Linked DNA regions of Homo sapiens: all the other regions are linked to region 1. The links are contacts of gene promoters, found by promoter capture Hi-C in blood cells and fetal thymus (Javierre and others, 2016). All regions are on one chromosome and are shown on one strand. Each heading gives the region's core, a stretch centred on a gene start or on the middle of the fragment in contact. The rest is flanking DNA. Distances are from core to core; before and after follow the strand shown.

What was found. Contacts are between HindIII fragments. The CHiCAGO score rates a contact against its expected background, and 5 or more counts as called.
Region 2: a contact is called between the fragment with the promoter of ALAS1 here and the fragment with the promoter of PBRM1 in region 1, in 5 of 17 cell types (activated CD4 T cells, neutrophils, total B cells and 2 more). The highest score is 9.7, in activated CD4 T cells.
Region 3: a fragment that was not itself captured here is called in contact with the fragment with the promoter of PBRM1 in region 1 in 1 of 17 cell types (naive CD8 T cells); the score reaches 6.9 in naive CD8 T cells.

Annotation. Positions count from the first base shown.
Region 1 is chr3:52,682,861-52,687,290 of GRCh38, reverse strand. It overlaps PBRM1 (polybromo 1), which reads left to right and starts at 1,378. Exons shown (of 32, transcript NM_001405607.1): 1 at 1,378-1,542. It overlaps GNL3 (G protein nucleolar 3), which reads right to left and starts at 1,259. Exons shown (of 15, transcript NM_014366.5): 1 at 1,186-1,259; 2 at 464-522; 3 at 1-45. The coding sequence starts at 1,198. RefSeq lists enhancers at 1,032-1,101, 1,096-1,784 and silencers at 1,422-1,571, 1,642-1,791. The HindIII fragment of the contact is 13,677 bases long and covers 1-4,430 here.
Region 2 is chr3:52,196,037-52,200,466 of GRCh38, reverse strand. It overlaps ALAS1 (5'-aminolevulinate synthase 1), which reads right to left and starts at 2,307. Exons shown (of 12, transcript NM_000688.6): 1 at 2,212-2,307; 2 at 1,619-1,795; 3 at 1,027-1,257. The coding sequence starts at 1,225. RefSeq lists silencers at 2,066-2,145, 2,256-2,325 and enhancers at 2,466-2,685, 2,696-2,765. The HindIII fragment of the contact is 12,746 bases long and covers 1-4,430 here.
Region 3 is chr3:53,077,607-53,082,036 of GRCh38, reverse strand. It overlaps a transcript of RFT1 not described here. Among named protein-coding and RNA genes, the nearest start is that of SFMBT1, 34 kb to the right of the region's middle. The HindIII fragment of the contact is 1,105 bases long and covers 1,824-2,928 here.

The DNA of each region.
Region 1 (4,430 bases), core at 129-2,628:
CCGCTTTTTAGCCTCCTTTCTTAATTTTCGATGATGTTCTCGAACCTATTAAAATAAAGAGATTTTGTCTGCTTACAAAAATATCTTTATACTTAAGCAGAATTCAAGTGAGAAACCAATCTGGCTGCAATTTAGTTATGCCTATAAAATGTCCTAGGAAAATGGAGCTTTAATTGGAATCTTACAAAGTAATGCATATGTAAGTATAAAACAGCAAGAAATTGTAACTAGAAGGCTCTCTATGCAGAGATTAACATGCTGAACAAATTTAGAGACTTATCACCAAATCACTGCACTTTCTCACAGCTGCACTCCTGATGCCTAAGAGCTTGTGCCCATGGTCAGTCTATCCAATGCCATTTCCCAAAACCAAATCACATTAACCCAGACTTTCCCGCAAAGGAACAGGGCAAAATCAGTTTAGCAATGTGTTTGGTACAGCTCTCTCAAGCACTACACTTACCTTTTTTTGGATTTTATACCGCTTATGGCAGGTCATGCGTTTACTTGCTTTCTTTAACTCTACAAAGAAACACATCACAAATCTGTTAACCCAAATGATTAGTTCTGGGTTAACGCACTATGGAGTTATATCCTTTTCTTGTGTTATTGGCTACCAAACCTAACGTTAAGTCTAATGCGAAATGCCTAATGCAAACATACGTGCTACTTTCAAATCCCAGAGAATTAAATTCAGTAGATCCAGAATGGAGTCAAAATTCCCTGCACTTACCCTCACAATATTAGAATGGGATCATACACAACAGCGTATGAGACACAAAACGACAACCACTTCGTGTCAAACAGCACGAATCATAAGGCAGGAGAGGAACACTGAGTCTGGGAGGCGATTCTCAGCTCTCACCTGGGCCAGTCTGCACGTGGCCACGGAAAGAAAATATTGGGCCTCAAACCTGGCTCAGACGCTGCTTCCTTACGAAAATCTAGCCTAGTCTTCCCCACCCTCTGCCCGGCTTCGTTCCGCAGAATGAGCCCGCGCGGTTAACATGATCGCCGTAGGGACTTCCAACTCTCGGTTCTACCAGGAAATAGGGCCAAGGCCTACGCGTAGGCTCCCACCCCCATACCAGCAGAGACAAAGCCGTAGCCGTAGAAGAGCGTCGTGGTGGCTGCAGCAACTTCCAGACGTGGGTCCCTCCACGCCCGCCTCCCGACCCCACTTACTAGGCCTTTTCATATTGGCTGTAGAAGGAAGCACAAACACATCAACCTGCCTCCGCTGGCGCCACGTGTGAACTGAAGCCACTGACGAGCGTCACGCACTTACGCTGCCGCCGTAAAGTGCGTCACCGCCTCTCTGCGTGCGCGGGCACGCAGTGTCGCGCGGAGCAGGGATCGCTTGGCGGCCGCGGGACTGGTTTTGCGGCGGCACCGGGAGGGGTAAGGGAGGTGAGGGCGGCGGGTGCCGAAGCGACGGCAGCGGCCGCGGCCGGAGGAGCAATAGCAGCAGCCGTGGCGGCCACGGGGCGGGGCGCGGCGGTCGGTGACCGCGGCCGGGGCTGCAGGCGGCGGAGCGGCTGGGTAAGGCCGGGCCCAGGGCGGGTGGGGCCGCTCCCCCTTGGTCAGCTGCCGGGCCTTTGTGTGGGCCCGGGCGGGCGGGAGCCGCGGCGGAAGCCCCGCCCCGGCCGTGGGGACGCGCGGGTCGGGCCGGGCGCGCGGGGTTGGGCGGGGCGCGGCGGCTGGCCTCCGGATGGGCCCAGTAGCCTTGTCGCACCTGCCGGCAGGGACAAAGGCGCACTACGGGTCGGAAACTCCCCGCGCTCCTCTTTCCCGCTCGTCGCGGGGCAGCTTCAAAGCTGTCAACGTTTCCCTCAGTCCCCAATACCAGTGACAGGTCGGGAAAGTCCTTCATTTCCTCCGTTGCTCAGGGCCTCTTTTTTTTGTTGTGGTTTCTTGACGGTTCGACACAAACTCTTAGTGATTTTCTTTCCGTATTTTTTCCGGGTATTTTAATCAATGGGACTTGTATTTATAGTAGAGGCCAGATATTTCAGCTTCTCAACACCACAAAGAATCCGGGATTTTGGGAACTGTGTATATTTCTTGGTTTGGGGAAGCACAGTTTTGTTATTATAATAAGTTTTAATTTAAAGGGGAAGAAAGAGTTGCAAAAATATAGAAAAAGCCCTGAAAAATAAGTACACGGTATAGTGGATATAGAAATTCTTACAATAATTATAGAAGCGTATGTTGGGGTGAATTGTTTTAATTAACTTACTTTCCAACACAGGATTCTTGACAAATAATTTTAGGTATTATTTTTTTCTCCATTTGGCTATGTGCTTTTCCCCAAAAAGTGCAAATTGGACTCATGCACATAAAAGAGTAGCATAATTTTTGCTTTATTACTTACAGGTCGCCCATATTTGATTTTGAGCTCCAAAATGGAAGATTGGAAAATATGTTTTGAAGAGGTGTTTCAAATTAAAACAATAAAGAGTTTATGTGTGGATGAATGGAAGGGCCTTGACCGCTTTCTTTGGCTTTGGGAATGTACAAAATACCTCAAATGTTAATATCCTACCAAAATTCCCAAGATAAGTAAATTGTGGTGTATCTATATGATAGATTACTATCAAGTCATCAAACATCATGAGGAAGAATGTTGACTTGGAAGAACCTTCACTAAAACACAGGCTGTAGAATAATATATGTGGTTTGTTAACATTTTGGTAAAAAATAATAGGTAACTAAGGCATAAATACCAAAAACCGAATGACAACGTTAAGAGTGGTTTTTTTCTTGGAAGTAGGTTTATAGGTGTTTTTTTTCCTTTGAGTCCTGTTTTCCAAGATTTTGTTTTAAACATGTATTGTATTGCTAAATATTACTAGAAATATAGGAGAGGGCTAAAGTTCATAAACGGTCGAAATACACTGTTTGTCTATAGTAAGTCGATATTCTCCCAGTTGCACATTATTAAGTATTCTTAACTGTCCACTATAAATTATTGATTGTTAGACTTTTGAACTTGTAACTGTAATCAAGGCCATTTTAAAACTTGGCATTGAACTCTGGAATCTGTCTTTCCTCTTCATGGAAAGACAAAATTGCTGAAGGGATGCTTACAGGCATTTTTTTTTTTTTTTTTTTTTTTTTTTTGAGACAAGGTCTGACTTTGTTGCCCAGGCTGGAGTTCAGTAAAGTGATCATGGCTCACTGAAGCCTTGTGCTCCTAGGCTCAAGCAGTCCTCTCACCTCAGCATCCCAAGTAGCTGGGATTACTGATGTGCAGCACCACACCCAGCTAATTTTAATTTTTGTAGAGAAAAGATCAATCTATGTTATCCAGTCTGGTCTTGAACTCTCTGCCTCAAGCGGTCATCCTGCCTCAGCCTCTCCAAGTGCTGGGACTACAGATATGAGCCCCTGTGCCTGGCTGAGGACTTTTAAACTATACAAATAAACTTTTTTTTTTGAAGGTCTCAAGTGCACTTTTTTTTTGTTTTTTTTGGAGACAGTCTTACTCTGTCCCCCAGCCTGGAGTGCAGTGGCGCAATCCCAGCTCACTGCAATCTCTGCCTCTCTGGTTCAAGCAATTCTCGTGCCTCACCCTCTCGAGTGCCTGGGATTACAGGTGCATGCCACCACCTTGCCTAGATAATTTTTTGTATTTTTGATAGAGACGGGGTTTCACCGTGTTGGCCAGGCTGGTCTTGAACTCCTGACCTCAGGTGATCTGCCCACCTCAGCCTCCTAAATTGCTGGGATTACAGGCATGAGCCACTGTGCCTGGCCCTAAGTGCACTTTTAATACATTTATTAAAAGATAAACTGAGCACATAACCTATACCAAATACTATCCTGTAAGACAGGTCTACAAAAATGAATATGCTGTTCCTGTGCCTGGGGAACATGCAGAAGTGATTTCACTTTATGTTGTTTTTTTTTTTTTCTTGAGACGGTCTCGCTCTGTCACCCAGACTGGAGTGCAGTGGTATGATCTCGGCTTGCTGCAACCTCTGCCTCCTGGGTTCAAGCAATTCTCATGCTTCAGCCTCCCAAGTAACTGGGTTTACAGGCATGCACTGCCTCAGCCAGCTAATTTTTTTTTTTATTATTTTTTTGAGACAGAGTCTTGCTCTGACGTCCAGGGTGGAGTGCAGTGGTGCCATCTCGGCTCACTGCAACCTCCGCCTCCCGGGTTCAAGCGATTCTCCTGCCTCAGTCTCCCAAGTAGCTGGGATTACAGGTGCGTGCCACCAAGCCCAGCCAATTTTTTTTGTATTTTTAGTGGAGACGGGGTTTCACCGTGTTAGCCAGGATGGTCTTGATCTCCTGACCTCAGGTGATCCATCCGCCTTAGCCTCCCAAAGCGCTGGGATTACAGACATGAGCCACCGCACCCAGCTAAATTTTTGTATTTTTCTTTAGTAGAGACAGGGTTTCACCACGTTGGCCAGTCTGGT
Region 2 (4,430 bases), core at 1,058-3,557, 490 kb after region 1:
TGCACACAGCCAAGATAAATTTGTTTTTAAAAATCACTAATAAATACTGTACAATTTCACTTATATGAGGTACCTAGAATAGTCAAATTCATAGAGACAGAAAGCAGAATGGTGGTTGTCAGGGGTTGGGGAGAGAGGAATGGAGAGTTACTGTTTGATGGGTATAGAATTTCAGTTTGGGAAGATGAAAAAAGTTCTGGAGATGGATGGTGGTGGTGACACAACAATATGAATGTACCACTGAACTGCACATTTTTAAGTGCTTAAAATGGTAATTTTTCTTGGGCATTTTACCACAACAGAACAAAAACTTTTAAGAAAAAAAAAATCACTACTTTAAAAAGCCAAAGGGGCCGGGCACGGTGGCTCACGCCTGCAATCCCAGCACTCTGGGAGGCTGAGGCAGGTGGATCATTTGAGGTCAGGAGTTTGAGACCAGCCGGACCAACAAGGTGAAACCCTACTAAAAGTACAAAAATTATCTGGGCGTGGTGGTGCATGCCTGTAATTCCAGATACTTGGAAGGCTGAGGCAGGAGAATCACTTGAACCTGGGAGGTGGAGGTTGCAGTAAGCCGAGACTGCATCACTGCACTCCAACCTGGGCGACAGAGCAAGACTCAGTCTCAAAAAAGAAAAATTAAATAAATAAAAAGCCGAAGGCCAAATGTTTAATGAGGGAAATTAGAAGGCTAAATGTTTAATGAGGGAAATTAGAACATTCCAATTTAATATTTATGTGAACGAGGCACTGAGGAAACACTAAAACCCCTATAGACACTAACGTGCAATCCAAAAACCTGTAATGTGCAACACTGGCCACTGTTTCACCTTTAAAGATGGAAAAGCTAAAAGTGCCTACCCTTGGGGGGACAATCATATGAGATAATCTGTGCTCAGAGCCCAGCCTGCACATAGCAGCCCTCTGTGAGTGAGTGTGACCCTCACCACCACTGTGGGGACTGCTTCTAGTCTACCAATGAGCACAAACACCCATACCTGCTCCTTCATTGTCAATGACACTTACTCTCACTGGCCGGAGGGGTTTCTTTGATCTGTTGGTAGTGTACTGCTGCAGTGGACAATGCCCGAGGGGCTGGCTTGGCCCCAACTTCCATCATCTTGGGGCAGTTTTGGGCATAGAACAACAGAGATTTGCCTGCTTTCTGCAGAAAGGCCTGGGGGACTCGGGATAAGAATGGGCAGCGGCGAACAACACTCTCCATGTTCAGGAAGTATGCTGGCTCCTGTGGAAAGACTGATGAAGAGTGACATCAACAGTTGTTAATAATCAGGCAAATATCACTGCAAGCTCACTGGATTCAGGTGTCAACCGCAGTTTATATAAAGGGTACCCTGGAATACTAACACTTCTCCCTCAAAAATGCCTAAGGACAGCACTGATGTGAGCTAAGGAATGGTGACCACACTTTACCCGGGTCACCAACTTCTTCATTCTCCAGCGCTACACAAAGGCACCTGCAAAGCAACTTCACCAAATGAATACTGACAGTACATAATCAAGGGGGCGGAAGGATGAGGGAAAGGTCAAGAACAGGTTTGGGAGGCCAGAGGTTTCTTAGGGAGATGCACAGTGCAGATAAGACATCTTGGCTTACATCTAGGTGGAGAAGAAGCCACTCATCCATCCAGGCAGGGAAGACTCTTAGGGATCCTGACTTTCTCCTGGTCCCCACATCCCCTAAACCCGAGGAAGGGGTCCAGCAGGGTCCCGAGTCCCTGAAGCAAGGATTCCTCCGTGGTCGTGTCCCCACAGCGGGAAGAACTGGGCATAACTGAGAAAGGAGGGGCACAAATGAGGGTAGGGGTATGAGGGCCAGCGCCTTGGGCCTCACTGGGGACGCGCAGGGGCTTATAAAGTCGAGGGAGTTGAGTCTGGAGAAAGAAGGCAGTCCTCCGGCAGTGGGGGTCAGAGGTGACCCGCGGTCGAGGTCTCGAGAATGACGGGAGGGGTATGAGAAGGGAATTCTAAAGCGGCGGGTTCAACCGGGAATAGCCGGAAGGGGCCGAAAGGGGGAAACTGAGGCGGCCGTCTAGGCAAAAGATCTGGAGGATAAACGCTGACCTCAAGGCGGCGGGTGACTGGGACAGTGGGGGATGGGGTCCCAGCACCCGGGGCAGCGGTGCCACGGCTGGCAGGACACCCCGGGGCTTCCTCGGCCGGCGCCGCACCTACCGCGCGGGCCCTCACCTGCGCTGAGGACTGCAGAGGCGGCGGCGAAGGAGGCGGGCACTCAAGTCGAGAAGTCCAAACGAAACGCTCGTTGCCCTTGTCCGGGAGCAGCCTCAGGCCGCGATCGCCGGCGCCTTAATATACAGCGGGAGTGACCGCTGCGCATGCGCCTTGGGCGCTGCCTTCTTCTGCGCAGGCGCGCCGCGTAGCCCTCGGCGAGCCGGGGGGGCGGGGCAGAGAGGCCCACTTCTTGGGCTCTGCGGATATCGGTGCTGCCGGGGATTCCCCGGCTCGCCTGCAGGGAGGAGGAAGCGCTAGGCGGTGGGCGGACGAGGTCTCTTTTCCCGACCTCATCCTGCACCCTCGTGCTGCCTCCCCACCAACTACCCTGGGCTTCAGAACCCTACGCCCCAATTGAGTATAAAATGGCAAGGTCGAGGCGAGGTGCCGCTAGGGCCAAGTTGGGGGCTACAGGGTTGTTAAGCTGGGTGTCTTGGACATGGAGGAAGAAGGAGATCCAAGGGGTTCTGGGCCGGGGTGTTAAGCAGGATCCATCCCGCCTGCGGCTTGCTTTGGAAACTGTGAACAAGGGCTTCCCGGAGGAGGTGGAGCTGGCTATATCGCCCACAAATGGAGTGGTCCTGGCAGGATGCGGAAGAAGCGGGACACTCAGCTGTGGCACTTTCTGGTCTAAGATGATCCAGAGGGGACAGAGGAACAGGGCTAGGGTGGAACCCATCCACTCCACAGCTCTGAGCACTTGGGGAGGAGGGGAAGGCACAGGGCCTGACAATAGTTAGCGTGTAACAAATATTAGCCACTATTTTTATTTTCCATCCAGGGTTGTCTGAAGCCCCTTGCTGGCCACCCTGGGCACCAGCAGGGTGGCTTAGGCCTCCATGCCAAAGGTCAGCGTTGGGCCATACCTCCATTGAGTTTCCCGGGTACAACACATAAAGTGTAGGGCTTGGCAAACCCGTCTCAGGAATGTCAGTCTGGCTTCCTTGCCCCACACCCTTCCCAGCTTGGCTTGGGCTGTGTTGGGCTGGGCCTGTGCCAGGCTCAGAGGTACTCTCCTCCATTCTTGAGGAAAGGGCCTTTGAGGGTATTCCTTTCCCAGCTGAGCATTAACAAGAGGGACAAAGTCCAGAATGATGGTGACCAGGGTGTGTCCAGGTACTTTGCATTTCTGTCTCTGAGCACCCAGCTGGCTGCAAGGCAGGTGAGGTGAGTCTCCACCTTCAGAGGAGGCACCTGGGTTCAGAGTGGCAGTGGGACCAGTCCAGGATGAGGGCTTTGGTCTGAGAGCTCGAGACCCAGTTCTGTGCCATTCAGCCAAGAGATCCTGGGCAGTGCCCATCACCCAGAGAAGATGAGAGAGAAAAGGTCAGCACTTGGACTTGGACCCAAGTGCAGCTGGAAGTGGGAACAGAATAAGGATGATATTGAGTGCTTTGCTCATCTTTGGGCCTTGCTTTCCTTATCTGGGCAATAGGATCATAATCCCTGAAATGCCTGCCTCACAGGTTGTTTTTGTTGTTGTTGTTATTTTGTTTGTTTGTTTGAGACAGAGTCTCCCTCTGTTGCCCAGGCCGGAGTGCAGTGGCACAATCTCGGCTCACTGCAACCTCTGCCTCCCAGGTTCAAGCGATTCTTCTGCCTCAGCCTCCTGAGCAGCTGGGATTACACCACCACGCCCAGCTAATTTTTGTATTTTTAGTAGAGATGGGGTTTCACCATGATGGCCAGGCTGGTCTTGAACTCCTGACCTCAAGTGATCACCCTCAGCTTCCCAAAGTTCTGGGATTATAGGCTTGAGCCACTGCGCCTGGCCCTCATAGGGTTTTTTTGGGGGTGATCAGAGCCAAAGCCAAAGCAGAAAGAACTGGATAGTGGAGTTGGGCATGGGTTTCAAACCCAGCTCTGAATCTTACTTGGCCATAGACTTGGGCAGGCCACAACCTCTTCAAGGCTTGGTTTCCTGATTTGTAAAGCTCTCCCGCCCTGCCACTTGTGGCTGGCAGGAGGGTCAGGTGAAGTCCTGTATTTCAGAGGCTTATTGTTTAAACCAGCCAGTCCCTAGCCCTCTGGGAGTTTCCTGTTTAATATAGAGAAAGATTGGGAAACAAGGCCGACTCACATGGAAAGTGAAATAGAGTGTTGTAAGCAACTCCAGATGGAGGAAGAGGAGGAGGCTATTACTCCAACAGGCGCTGAAAGAGGAGGATCCCAACCAC
Region 3 (4,430 bases), core at 1,127-3,626, 390 kb before region 1:
GGGAAGTCGAGGCTGCAATAAGCCATGATCACACCGCTGCACTCCAGCCTGGGTGACAGAGTGAGACTCTGTTTCAAAAACAAAACAAAACTAAAAATCCAGCAAGTTTGGAACCCACAGGATTTGTTTTCAATCCATCCCTGACCTTCCATGGCTTATTTTTCTCTACAGTTCCTCCCCTGCCTCTGTCTTCATCCCATCTTAAGGAATTTAGGGTAATTGTTTCGCACAAACATTGGCATGATAAGAAATATTTGGGAGAAATAAATCTGGCCCAAAAAAATTATGGTACATTACAAAGAAAAGGTTTTGTATATCCCAGGGTCCCTGACTGTTGGGGCTTTGACCCTGGGCAGCACCACCAAGGAGTGGGAAGGCACCTCACTTTTGGCCTCTCGGGTCTAATTCCTCACTTTGGAACCATGGGCAGGAGATCTTGCCTCTCTGTGCCTCAGTTTCCTCATCTGTCACCCACCTTACGTGGTCCAGGAAAGATGAAAGGAGAACAGAAATGGGAGGCAAATTCAGCTCCAAAAGCCTTGGAAACCCCAAGCCGCAGCAAGGCTTCCTGGGTGTCCACTTGACCCACATCCACCCTTCTTTCCTCTTCCAATCCCCGTGCCGAGGTAGTTCTCTCCCTACACCCTGCACCTCACCTCTATGGCTGTGCCAGGCTCTGCTCCTCTCCACCCTCACCCCTAATGATCCAGCTCAAAGGCCTGCTGTGGCTGAGCCAGCAAAGGAGGGAGGGCGAGGGCATTATAAATACTCATGATTTAATGGCTTTTCCTTTAGCCCCATTACCTGCAGAAGGCACCTGGCCTAGAATGCATGGCGTTGATGAACTCAGGTCACCGTTTCTTTCCCTTGGCTTCATTTGGGCTGGTTCTTATGATGTCCTCAGGAGCCCTGGAACCAGCACTGCCCAGCCTCATCCTCACACCTCTCCCCATGCCCCAGCCAGGGAGGCACTCGCCTGTGTCAGGCCTGGTGGCCCTGTTCTTATGACCCCCCTAGGCTGCTCTGTCCCCATCAGGCTCCTCGTCCTTTCTTGCAACAGCCCTATATTCTTTCTCCCTTGAGAATTAGAAAGGCAGGTGTGTGTGGTGGGGCCAGGAGTTTGGCGGGGAGGGAAACGTGTCCAGAGAGGGCTTTGAGGCAGCTGTGGCTTTGCTTCCCCAGGCCTAGTCACTGGACCCAGCCCAGCTACCCTGCTACCCTACCCCCTTCAAGCTGTGAATCTTTGAGCAAAGTGCTTGATCCCCCTGTGCCTCAGTTTACTCATCTAAAAATGGGCACAATAGCACTTGCCTCATAGGGTGTAGTAAGGAGTGAGAGGAGGTAGGTAAAGCACTAGACAGGGATGCCTAGCTCTAGCCTAGTGGACTTGAACGAGTGGAATTTTAAATCTGCCCAACACAAGGTTACAGAGGGACTGTGGTCCCTGGAATCGTTTGTTTCCCCACTACTGCTTCCTCCTCCCACCTAACCCCAGTCCACAGAAGTGCACGTGGTGGTGGAGCATCTTTTAAAATTCCAATGGAAACATTGCTTTACCCTCTCCTGAAAGACGAAGCTGCAGGTGAAGAAGAAACGAAAACTGCTTTTAGGCCCAGCTGGCCCTGCAGGAGCTTTGGCGGGTAAGGGTGTCAGGCAGGGAGACTGTGCAGAGCCAGGCATCTGGATGTGGATTTGAGGTGTCCTTAGCCTTGGAAACCCCAGTGACTAGGCCCGGGGAAGAAACGCCATGGCTGCCAGCAAATGCTCTTTCAGACACACATTCCGCACACCTCCCCAGGACAAGAAGGGATGCTCCAGAAGCTTGTTAAATGATTTCCACCAATTTCAGAAATTGCCTCAGCTAGTTGTTTATATTTCCCATCAGCCTTAGATTAAGACAGAAAGAAAATGGGGCCCTGGCGTCAGGAAAGAAGGTGGCTTTGTCCAGGGAGGGACAGCTGCTGTGGCAGTTTCTGAAGAAAGTGGAAAGGCATGAATGGGCCCTGCCATGTGTTGGGTGGCCACAGGCATGAGCTCTCCTGGTCTCGGCTTTCCAAGGCCCGGGCCACGGTGGCCCACGAGGACACCCCTGCACCCCCACATGGCCTCACCCACCAATTGCCAATGTCCTCACCTTGAACCCACTCATCACAGGCTGATCCAGAAACTTGCTGAGTTTTGTTTTGTTGCAAACACTGATTTGCTTTGTTGTTTTTTTTACTTCACTGGGATGTAGGATGCCAGGTTAAGATGGACTGGTTTCTCCTGCCAGAAGCAGCTTTGAATTTAGGATGCCCAGAGGGTGCTGTCTTTTTCTTTTGACAGAGTCGTGGTCTGTTGCCCAGGCTGGTGTGCAGTAGTGCGATCTAGGCTCACTGCAACCTCTGCGATTCTCCTGCCTCAGCCTCTCAAGTAGCTGGGATTACAGGCGCCCACCACCATGCCCAGCTAATTTTTCTATTTTTACTAGAGACAGGGTTTTGCCCTGTTGGCCAGACTGGTCTCGAACTCCTGACCTCAGGTGATCCACTCGTCTCAGCCTCCCAAAGTGCTGGGATTACACATGTGAGCCACTGTGCCCAGCCTAGGGTGCTGTCCTGAACACTATTGATAAGGTGGAGTTTTCCTGGGAAGGGAAGAGTGTTCTGCCTACAGACTTGTGGACATCAGGGAGACACCAGATGTGTCTGGGCCCAGCGCTGATCCTTGGGGAAGGTGTGAGGCCATGGACATTTGGGGTGTGGGTCATATCTGAGTAGTGGGGATCCATCAGGCCTTCCTCTTCCTCCTTCTCATTGTCAAAGAGCCGTGACCTGAGTGTACCTGGTTCTGATCCGACAGCCCACTGCTAAAGGCCTCCCTCATTTCTATCAGCGTCTGTGGGACATTCCCTTCAACTGTGCAGGAGTCCTGGTTGCCTTTGAAGCTTGGAAATGATGTTTTACCACATCCCCACTGCCCACTGGGCCAGAGGACCTGCTGTTGATCCAGACAATCAACAGAGCTGGAGAGCCCGGAACTGTATTCCGATCCCAGCCCTGCCTTTTACTCCTTGTGAGATCTAGCAGGTAGCTTTGCCTTTTCTCCATCTGCAGAAGGTTCTAATAATCCCTGCTCACTCTTGCTCCAGGGCCATTGTGGGGCCAAGGAAAAGTTGGGGTTCAGCAGTTCTTTGGGGTGGAATGGAGAGTTGGAGAGCCAGTGGGCCTGTGCATACCAAGGCTGGAGCCTGGGTCCTGCAGGGGAGCTAGTCCAGCACAGAGGTCACGGTGGAGATTAAAATATTCCTTTTTTTGAAACAGGATCTGGAGCTGCTGCCTGGGCTGGAGTGCAGTGATGCAATCATAGCTTACTGCAGCCTCAATCTCCAGGGCTCAAGTGATCCTCTAGCCTCAGCCTCTGGAGTAGCTGGGACCACAGGCATGAGCCACCATACCCGACTAATTTTTTAAAAATTATTAGTAGAGATGGGGTCTCACTATGTTGCCCAGGCTAGTCTCACACTCTTGATCCTCCCACCTCGACCTCCTAAAGTACTGGGATTACAGGCGTGAGCCACTGTGCCTGGCCAAGTTTAAAATATTCTATACCATGTGTTATTTTTCCTGATAAGTGATTTTATCTCCTGATATTATGTATTTTATGTATTTCTTGCTATTTAATTACAAATTATCCTGAGGGCAACCAGTGCCCTGCAGAAAGTCACAGAAACACTGGGTCCATGTCCTGCCCGAGGCCAGTCCTGACTTTGCCCGTGGTACGCACCTGTGCCGTGCTCACACTGTCCTGCACAGCATCCTTTTTTACTATAATATGCCATTGCAGGTTATTCCCAGCACTTTCTATGTTGTAAACTGTTAAGTGAATATCCTGACACAGAGTCCTCCAAGAGCCTGGTCTCCTTCTCCATTTTGCCTGCTGATGAACCCTGAGAGTGAACTTCACCGCCTCTCAGCCCCAGCCTCGCCCCTAAGAGAGCCTAGGATGGAAGGGAGCCTGCCCAGGTCATATTGAGTTGATGACCAGCCAGCCTGGAGCCTGAGACTCAGGACCTGTAGGTCAGTGGGCCAAACCGTTCAGATCGCCTGGGTTCCACATCTGAAAAGGGCTTTGCATGATGCCAGCCTCCCAGTCAATGGTCTGTATTAATTGTGACATCGTGGCAACCTGTCACTTGGTCATTCAGCTGACAGTCTTTCCTCCTGCAGAGGCCAAGAAAACCATGGAGGAGCAGTGGACCTTGGTGTCCCTGCTGAGCACAAGCCAGCAACAAGGACCTGTCCCCCCAGGCTCCACGGCATCCTCAGCCACAGACAAGCTCAGCCGCTGGGAGTGTGCACCTGTCACAAGTAATTGCTTCCCAAGAAGCAATTCCTCTGGGTGTCAGTAAAGTCACTGATGCCCCAGCCCTCCCCTCAGAGAATCTGATT